2 separate regions of the Homo sapiens genome follow, and region 1 is linked to region 2. Evidence: promoter capture Hi-C in 16 types of primary human blood cells and fetal thymus (Javierre and others, 2016). All regions are on one chromosome and are shown on one strand. Each heading gives the region's core, a stretch centred on a gene start or on the middle of the fragment in contact. The rest is flanking DNA. Distances are from core to core; before and after follow the strand shown. Region 1 overlaps NDUFB6 (NADH:ubiquinone oxidoreductase subunit B6). Region 2 holds the start of SMU1 (SMU1 DNA replication regulator and spliceosomal factor).

Region 1 (4,271 bases), core at 809-3,308, 510 kb after region 2:
AGTTAAAGAACAAGATGGAAGAGAAGTGGACTGGGAATATTTTTATGGCCTGCTTTCTACCTCAGAGAACCTAAAATTAGTGTTGTCTGCCATAAGAAAACCACCCACAAAACCAGCTATGACCTGAACAGAATCTACAAACCCCAGACAAGGTTGAAGAGGAAGTGGCCTGTGTGAAAGCGCCAGTGACATATACACACCATATTCTCGTCTTTGTTCGAGGCCTGTCGTGGGCATAATTTTAACAGGTGCCTTTTTTTTTTTTTGGTCACTCCAGTAGCTCCTGGAAAAAACCTTAAAAAATATTTCCGGCAAATCTGATTTCAGTACATTTCTGAATCATTGTTTGTTTGTTTGTTTTTTGTAGGTGGAGTTTCACTTTCGTTGCCCAGGCTGGAGTGTAGTAGTGTGATCCTGGCTCACTGCAACCTCCGCCTCCCGGGTTCAAGTGATTCTCCTGCCTCAACCTCCCAAGTAGCTAGGATTACAGGTATGTGCCACCATGCCTGGCTAATTTTTGTATTTTTAGTAGAGACAGGGTTTCGCCATGTTGGTCGGCCTGGTCTCGAACTCCTGACCTCAGGTGATCCACCTGCCTCGGCCTACCAAAGTGCTGGGATTACAGGCGTGGGCCTCCGTGCCTGGCCTGAATCATTTTTTGTACCTTCTGACAGCCCAACTTCCAGAGGACAACTTTGGGGTACTCACTGGATGTCTTGTGAGTCGTCAGTAGGGATAAGAATTGTCCTGAGCTGAGGAATTCTTCTGTTCTCTGGTTTTACCAGTATTTGGTTTGCTCATGTGGTGTGGTCACCATACTAAAACGGTGTCATGGCTGAAGTTAGCCACTCTTGTTTGAGGGACAAGTTGTTTATGCATCAGCTGTCTGCTGGCTCTCCATTTCCATGGCAAATGGGCAGCTCCATCCTTCTTGACTGTTCTAAATGCCCAAAAGAGAGGTGTCATGCTTTGGGGGTAAGATGTTTGTACTCCATAAAGAACATAAAAGGACATTCACTGCTGAATTTTTTTCTTTTTTTTTTTTGAGACAGGGTCTCACTGTGTCTCCTGGCTGGAGTGCAGTGGCGCGATCTCGGCTCACTGCGACCTCTGCCTCCTGGGTTCAAGTGATTCTCCTGCCTCAGCCTACCAAGTAGCTGGGATTACAGGTGTCCGCCACCATGGCTGACTAATTTTTGTATTTTTAGCAGAGATGAGGTTTTGCCATGTTGGCCAGGCTGGTCTTGAACTCCTGACCTCAAGTGATCTGCCTGCTTTGGCCACCCAAAGTGCTGGGATTACAAGCGTGAGCCACCGCACCTGGCCTGCTGAATTGTTTATAATGGCAAAAAGTAGGAAACCTCCCAATGTCTATGAATAGGGCCATAGCTATTATGTCGAACCACATGAAACTGCCGTTTTTCTAGGCCAAAAATGGTGAGCGATCGTTAATTTCATGATTCAACTTGATACATTTACATAGTGCAAAAGGATGTTGTAGTTTCAAGCTTTTATGAAGAAAGTGTTTCTGTGTAGAAACTGGAAGCTGTTCAGTGCACTGGCAGCTGAACCCTGCTCCTGCTCCATTTATCAGAGTTACTATCATCTCAGATAATATGGAGCTCATGTCAGCAGTGCAGGTGGTGAGTGCGCAGAGACAATCTGGAAGGAAACGCTGATCTGAACAGCAGTAATCCTGGGGGACATGGGGGTGGGACTGGATTACAGAGGACTCATTTTCTAAATCATGTATTTTATGATACTTGAATTTTTTTGAAATGGGCATTTATTTAATGACATGTTATAATGTACTTTTTTTTAAAAAAGTGTAATATTTGAATTTTTACATTTGTTGTGTAATCAGCAGAAGCAATAAAGATTTTTCAGAAAAAAGAAAAATGGCACTGATAGAGTTGCTTGTCTCGGGGTTGCTAAAACCTTCTATTTATAAGAAAACACAATATATGTGAAGTGCAGTAAAGCAAAGTGCAATAAAGTAAGGTATGCCTGTGAGTACATATGTTGATGATAAAGGGACACAGGATTCTCACTGCCGGAAAAGGGAGTTACCTATGTGAAAAGGAAGAAAAGTTTGTGGTGGTAGAATGGAATTGGAGGTACTGGTGTGAACTCATGGTTTTTAAAATGTATTGATAGACCTAGAAATAGATATAGATGTAAATGTGGATGTGTGCATGCGTGTTTGTGTGTACATATTCTCTAGCTATGTCCACTGAGAGGACCTGGAAACATTGCCACTCCTTAGTAATTAGCACACTTAGAAGCTAGGTCTTATTTTCTAAATACAGTTATGCACTGAAAGGACCCAGAGCTCAGAGCAGTGGCCAATTCTAGGGCGGGAGGAGAGAAAGTATAAGATGAGCTTGGAACATATTATTGTGCCAGAAAGTAAAGAAGTGCTGAAAGAATGATGGGAACATATTTCAAAGGACACAGAGTCAGCTTGCAAGGACTCCTGCCTGGGCAGTTTGAACTTCAAAGTAAATAATGATAGTAATAGATGATAGTCACCTGAATAAAATGAAAATCCATGAGTGCAAACTGATATAAATAAGTGAATTAATAAATGGGTAGAAAAGAAAGCTTTTTGATGCAATAATTTGCTGAATGATAGAATTAGAAAAATTACCATTTGAGAATCATCATAGTAATATTTAATTCAGCTAAGGAACATCAAAGGATGCTAACATTAGTCTGGGCACAGTGGCTCACACCTGTAATCCCAACACTTTGGGAGGCTGAGGTGGGAGGACTGCTTGAGGCCAAGAGTTTGAGATCAACCTGGGCAACATAATGAGACCCCATCCCTCCAAAAAAAAAAAAAGCCCAATAGTCCCACCTGTTCAGGAGGCTGAAGCAGGAGGATCGCTTGAGCCCAGGATGTGGAGCCTGCAATGAGCTATGATTGTGCTGCCCACTGTACTCCAGCCATCCTGGGTGACATAGTGAGACTCCCATCTGAATCAAAAAAAGAAAATTAAAAAAAAAAGAGGATGCTAATACTAATTTTAAAATACTTATCCTCAAAATATTTAATTTGTTACAAAGAGAGAAAGAGTATCTTTGTAGTAGAGAAATCTGGCAGACGCCACCTTAGTCAAGGGGTCTAAATTAACATTATTGATAATGGGGCAAACTGAAATTATGTTACTTGATAGGCTGCAATAAGAACACAGCATTACTTTTGTGATATTCCTGCCAAAGGTGCATAACTTGAATGTAATTTATTGATTAAATTCATATGAGGAAACAGAAGATAAACCCAAACTGAGGGGCTGTTCTCCCTCATTATTGGCATTATACCTTCAGAAATGTCAAGATCATGAATGTTAAAGAACAGCTTTAAGATTGTTCCAGATTGAGGAAGAATAAAGAGATATGCCAACTAAATGCAATTCTTCATTAATAGGCATAATTGCATTATCTGTAAGAACAGTGACGGTGTTGGCAGTCAGAATTTTAAAGAGCCTGCACAGTCAATGGAGAACATGTCATGTAAGGGGATTTTCTGATAAGTCCAAACAATTATTGAGACAATTGAGAAGATTTGAATGGATTTTTTAGATCAGGTAGAGATAGTAATGTATGAGTGTTAATTTCCTGATCTTGATAGTTGTATTGTAATTATTTTAAGAATATTGTCTTTGCTTGTAGGAAGTATACTAGAGTAATAAACTAGTCAGCAATTTACTATAAAGTGATTCAAGGAAAAAATTATTTTCATTCTTGCAGCTTTATGTAAGTTTAAAATTATTTCAGAATAAAGACAGAAGTTAAGGACTGTCTAACAAATTATAGATAATCCAGTGAATGTTGGCTTTCTGTTAGCCTATTGACAGAAGAGTGAAACAACCAAAATTTTGGGGGGTTTTCAGAACACCCCTGCCCCCAACATAACTTACTCTCTTTGATTGTGTTCTCTATTGATTGTGTAGACTCTTTAAAATTCTGATTGCTGACATCTTTGTTCCGTGTACTAAGCAGATTAAGCCCCTTGATTAACAAGTACGGAGTGCCTAGCATGTCCTCTTCCTTTATTGCTATAGAAAGAATATACAAGACCAAATTCCTGACCTCAAAGACTTTATAGTAAAGTTGGAAGATAGGTATAATTTGGGAAAGAGTACGGAGGAAAAAAGTTAATTCCTGTTAGAAGCAAACATATGGAGTCAGTAATGAACGTGGCCGTATGTACCTAAGACTGAGGAGCTGACTAGAATGGAAGGTCTGTTGACTAGGTAGCCTGGGAC
Region 2 (3,819 bases), core at 702-3,201:
GTGGAGTGCAGTGGTTCGATCTCTCCTCACTGCAACCTCTGCCTCCCGGGTTCAAGGGATTCTCCTGCCTCAGTCTCCCGAGTAGCTGGGATTACAGATGCACACCTATCTGCCTGGCAAATTTTCTTATTTTTAGTAGAGACGGGGTTTCACCATGTTGGCCAGGCTGGTCTCCAACTCCTGAACTCAGGTGATCCACCCGCCTCAGCCTCCCAAAGTGCTGAGATTACAGGCGTGAGCCACCACGCCTGGCCAGATTTATTATTACTGTGCTGCAAATAATTTTTACAATTTATATACAACAGCAATAAAATATTTAAAAATAGGTTTTATGTATGAAGTTCACTGATATCTCTACATTTCATTTGTCACTACAAATGTAATAATGTGTTTGACCTAAAGTCCCGTGACAGGGCGTGGTGGCTCATGCCAGTAATCCCAGCACTTTGGGTGGCTGAGGTGGGAGGATTGCTTGAGCTGGAGGGGTCGAGGCTGCAGTGTGCCACGATCGAGACACTGCACTCCAGCATGGGCAACAAAGCGAGTCCTTGATTCAAAAAAACGCAAAACCAACCAACCAACCAAAATCCTCAATTAACTCTTCCTATAAATTTTGGCTAGTGTTATGTTGGTTTTGAATGTATTAATATCCCATCAGGTATTGCATATTCAGCCTCATCTTAAATCTAATCAACTAATTACATCAAACGAAAGCAACATTGGCTGGGCGCAGTGACTCACGCCTGTAATCCCAGCACTTTGGGAGACCGAGGCGGGCGGATCACGAGGTCAGGAGTTCGAGAACAGCCTGACCAACATAGTGAAATCCCATCTCTACTAAAAATACAAAAAATTAGCCTGGCGTGATGGCAAGAAACCTGTAATCCCAGCTACTCCGGAGGCTGAGGCAAGAGAATCTCCTGAACCCGGGAGGCAGAGTTTGCAGTGAGCCGAGATCGCGCCATTGTGCTCTTCAGCCCGGGCGACAGTGCGAGATTCCGTCTCAAAAAAAAAGCAATCTTTCCAAACCAGTGCTCTTTCTTTTCTTTCTTTTCTTTTCTTTCTTTTCTTCTTTCTTTTCTTTGCTTTTCTTACTACAATCTTATCACCACTACTTTTCTTTTCTTCTTTTGAGACGGAATTTTGCTCTCCTTGCCCAGGCTGGAGTGCAATGGTGTGATCTCGGCTCACCGCATCCACCTCCAGAGGTGAAACGATTCTCCTGCCACAGACTCCCGAGTAGCTGAGATTACAGGCGCCCCCGCCACCACGCCCGGCTAATTTTTTGTATTTTTAGTAGAGACGGGGCTTCACCATGTTGCCCAGGCTGGTCTCGAACTCGCGCGCTGGGAGTACAGGCGCGAGCCACCGCGCTCCGCCCCAGCGCTTTTCTTTTTCAGTACATTTGTGAGCTGTATGGCGCCCGGTGCTTTTTTTCTTTTTCTTTTCTATCTTTCTTTTTTTTTTTTTTTTTTTTTTGAGACGGAGTTGCGCTCTTGTTTTCCATGCTGGGGTGCAATGGCGCGATCTCGGCTCACCGCAACCTCCGCCTCCTGGGTTCAAGCGATTCTCCTGCCTCAGGCTCCCGAGTAGGGATTACAGGCATGCGCCACTACGCCCGGCTAATTTTGTATTTTTAGTAGAGACGGGGGTTTCTCCATGTTGGTCAGGCTGGTCTCGAACTCACGACCTCAGGTGATCGCCCGCCTCGGCCTTCCAAAGTGTTGGGATTACAAGCGTGAGCCACCGCACCCGGCTCCGGCCTGCTTTTAAACAGTCTTCCTCCTGATGCGTATTTCTCTGGGGCAGGGGCATAAACTCCGCCCTCTGACAGCCCCTGAGGGCTCCGCCCCTACGCGAACCTCGCCCCTACTCTTCGTTCACTCTATCTCCAGAGCGGGAGCCAGACGCCGACCCAAGCGGAAGTGACGTTAGGTGTCCGCCGGAGGTGTCGTTGGTGTGTTGCGCGACTGGCCTTGAGGGAGAGCTGGGGCCTGCTCCCGGAGAGATACGGCTATGTCGATCGAAATCGAATCTTCGGAGTGAGTCCTGCGGTGGGGATGTTCGCGCCTTGCCGGGGGCCTGGAGGTTAAGGGTGTGGGGCGGAGGGTACTCGGGAGAAGGCATCCGAGAGGCCAGGGAGTGGAGGGCCATTTCCTTGCCCCCAAAGAAGCATCTTGGATCTCGCTACCTCGGAGGTGGGCCCACAGGAAAGTAGCAGCTCTCAGACGTGAAGCCCAAAACCTCGAGGGAGGTGGCACGGGTGGGGAAAACACACCTTGCAGACCTAAGTTCTGTCCTTGGCCGACTGCTGGCGCGCTGTGATTGACCAAATTAAGGATCCACTCTGGACTCCAGTCTAATTATCTGCGCAAGGGGATAGGTCTCTTTAAGCCTTGCTTCTCTCCCTGTCCAGCTTATGCAATGTGATTCGTTGTCTCTGCTTATACGGCCCCTTTGCTTTTCTCTGCCTAGCGTTTATCACTCAGTATTGTCACTGTTTGATAACCTCACCCCAAACTAGCCTTTGTCGGTGCCTAGGAGCTCCTTTTCCTTGTGGTCTCAGTGTCTAGCATACCTTAGAGGAAGAGTTAATTGCTTTTGGAATGAATGAACAACTAGCTTTTGGAATGAATGAACAACTATCAGGCCCGATCTGGCACGGAATTTTGGGTTGTCTGGGGAGAGACAGACTGGAGACTGGGCTAGAAAGAAAAATTTTCAAGGAATAGGGGATGAGAATTAGTGACTAAAGAAGACCTTAGTGTGCTTTTCCAGAACTCCATCCTCCACCTGTCCTTGCCAACACTTAATAATAATTAAATTAACAGACATAAAAATTGTGTCTGAGTGTAAGGGAGGGAGAGGACCTTTTTTGGAGACTTTTCATAGGAGGAAGGGAGGTTTATGCATTCAGCAAATACTGAAATGATGTTAACCTACTTGTCCAAGGTCACATAACTTTGATTCAAATCCCAGACTATCTTCAAAGCTTCTAGCTCTTTATGTATTCATTTCTGTTTGAAGGTAGGGAATTTGATTTTGGCTATGTCAAATGTGAGCTGTTTGAGGAGAGAGATGACTTATTTTGGGAGTGTAAAATGGAAGTCAACGGACATGTGCTAAGGAAGATAGTATCATAGCAGAATAACAGGGGTCTAAGTCTGGATACCTGCATACCTCATAAAGGGGCCATGAGAGAAAAAGACTACTGCAGGTAGCAGCAATCAGTTCCCTTTTTTTTTTTTGAGACGGAGTCTCACTCTGTCACCCAGGCTGGAATGCAGTGGCGCGATCTCCGCTCACTGCAAGCACCGCCTCCCACGTTCACGCCATTCTCCTGCCTCAGCCTCCCGAGTAGCTGGGACTACAGGCGCCCACCACCATGCCCGGCTAATTTTTTTGTATTTTTAGTAGAGACGGGGTTTCACCGTGTTAGCCAGGATGGTCTCGATCTCCTGACCTTGTGATCTGCCCGCCTCGGCCTTCCAAAGTGGTGAGATTACAGGCGTGAGCCACCGCGGCCGGCCTATAGTTGTTTTTAAGAAGAGGGGCCAGGTGCGGTGGCTCACACCTGTCATCTCAACACTTTGGGAAGCTGAGGTGGATGGATCACTTGAGCCCAGAAGTTTGAGACCAGCATGGTCAACATGGCAAAACCACGTCTCTACAAAAAATACAACAATTAGCCAGTGTGGTGGTGCATGCCTGTGGTCTCAGCTACTCGGGAGGCTGAGGTGAGAGGATCACCTGATCCCAGGAGGCCCAGGCTGCAGTCAGCCACAATCACGCCACTATTCTGTCCAGCCTGAGCGATGC

What was found. The method cuts DNA at HindIII sites, captures the fragments that hold promoters and counts their contacts. A CHiCAGO score of 5 or more calls a contact.
Region 1: a contact is called between a fragment that was not itself captured here and the fragment with the promoter of SMU1 in region 2, in 1 of 17 cell types (M2 macrophages). The highest score is 5.4, in M2 macrophages.

The regions. Positions count from the first base shown.
Region 1 is chr9:32,562,066-32,566,336 of GRCh38, reverse strand. The region is part of intron 2 of NDUFB6 (NADH:ubiquinone oxidoreductase subunit B6); the gene reads left to right. It also overlaps a transcript of SMIM27 not described here and the pseudogene DFFBP1. Among named protein-coding and RNA genes, the nearest start is that of NDUFB6, 9.0 kb to the left of the region's middle. The HindIII fragment of the contact is 1,096 bases long and covers 1,511-2,606 here.
Region 2 is chr9:33,074,806-33,078,624 of GRCh38, reverse strand. It overlaps SMU1 (SMU1 DNA replication regulator and spliceosomal factor), which reads left to right and starts at 1,951. Exons shown (of 12, transcript NM_018225.3): 1 at 1,951-2,042. The coding sequence starts at 2,017. RefSeq lists enhancers at 1,570-1,769, 1,940-2,089. The HindIII fragment of the contact is 3,581 bases long and covers 1-2,994 here.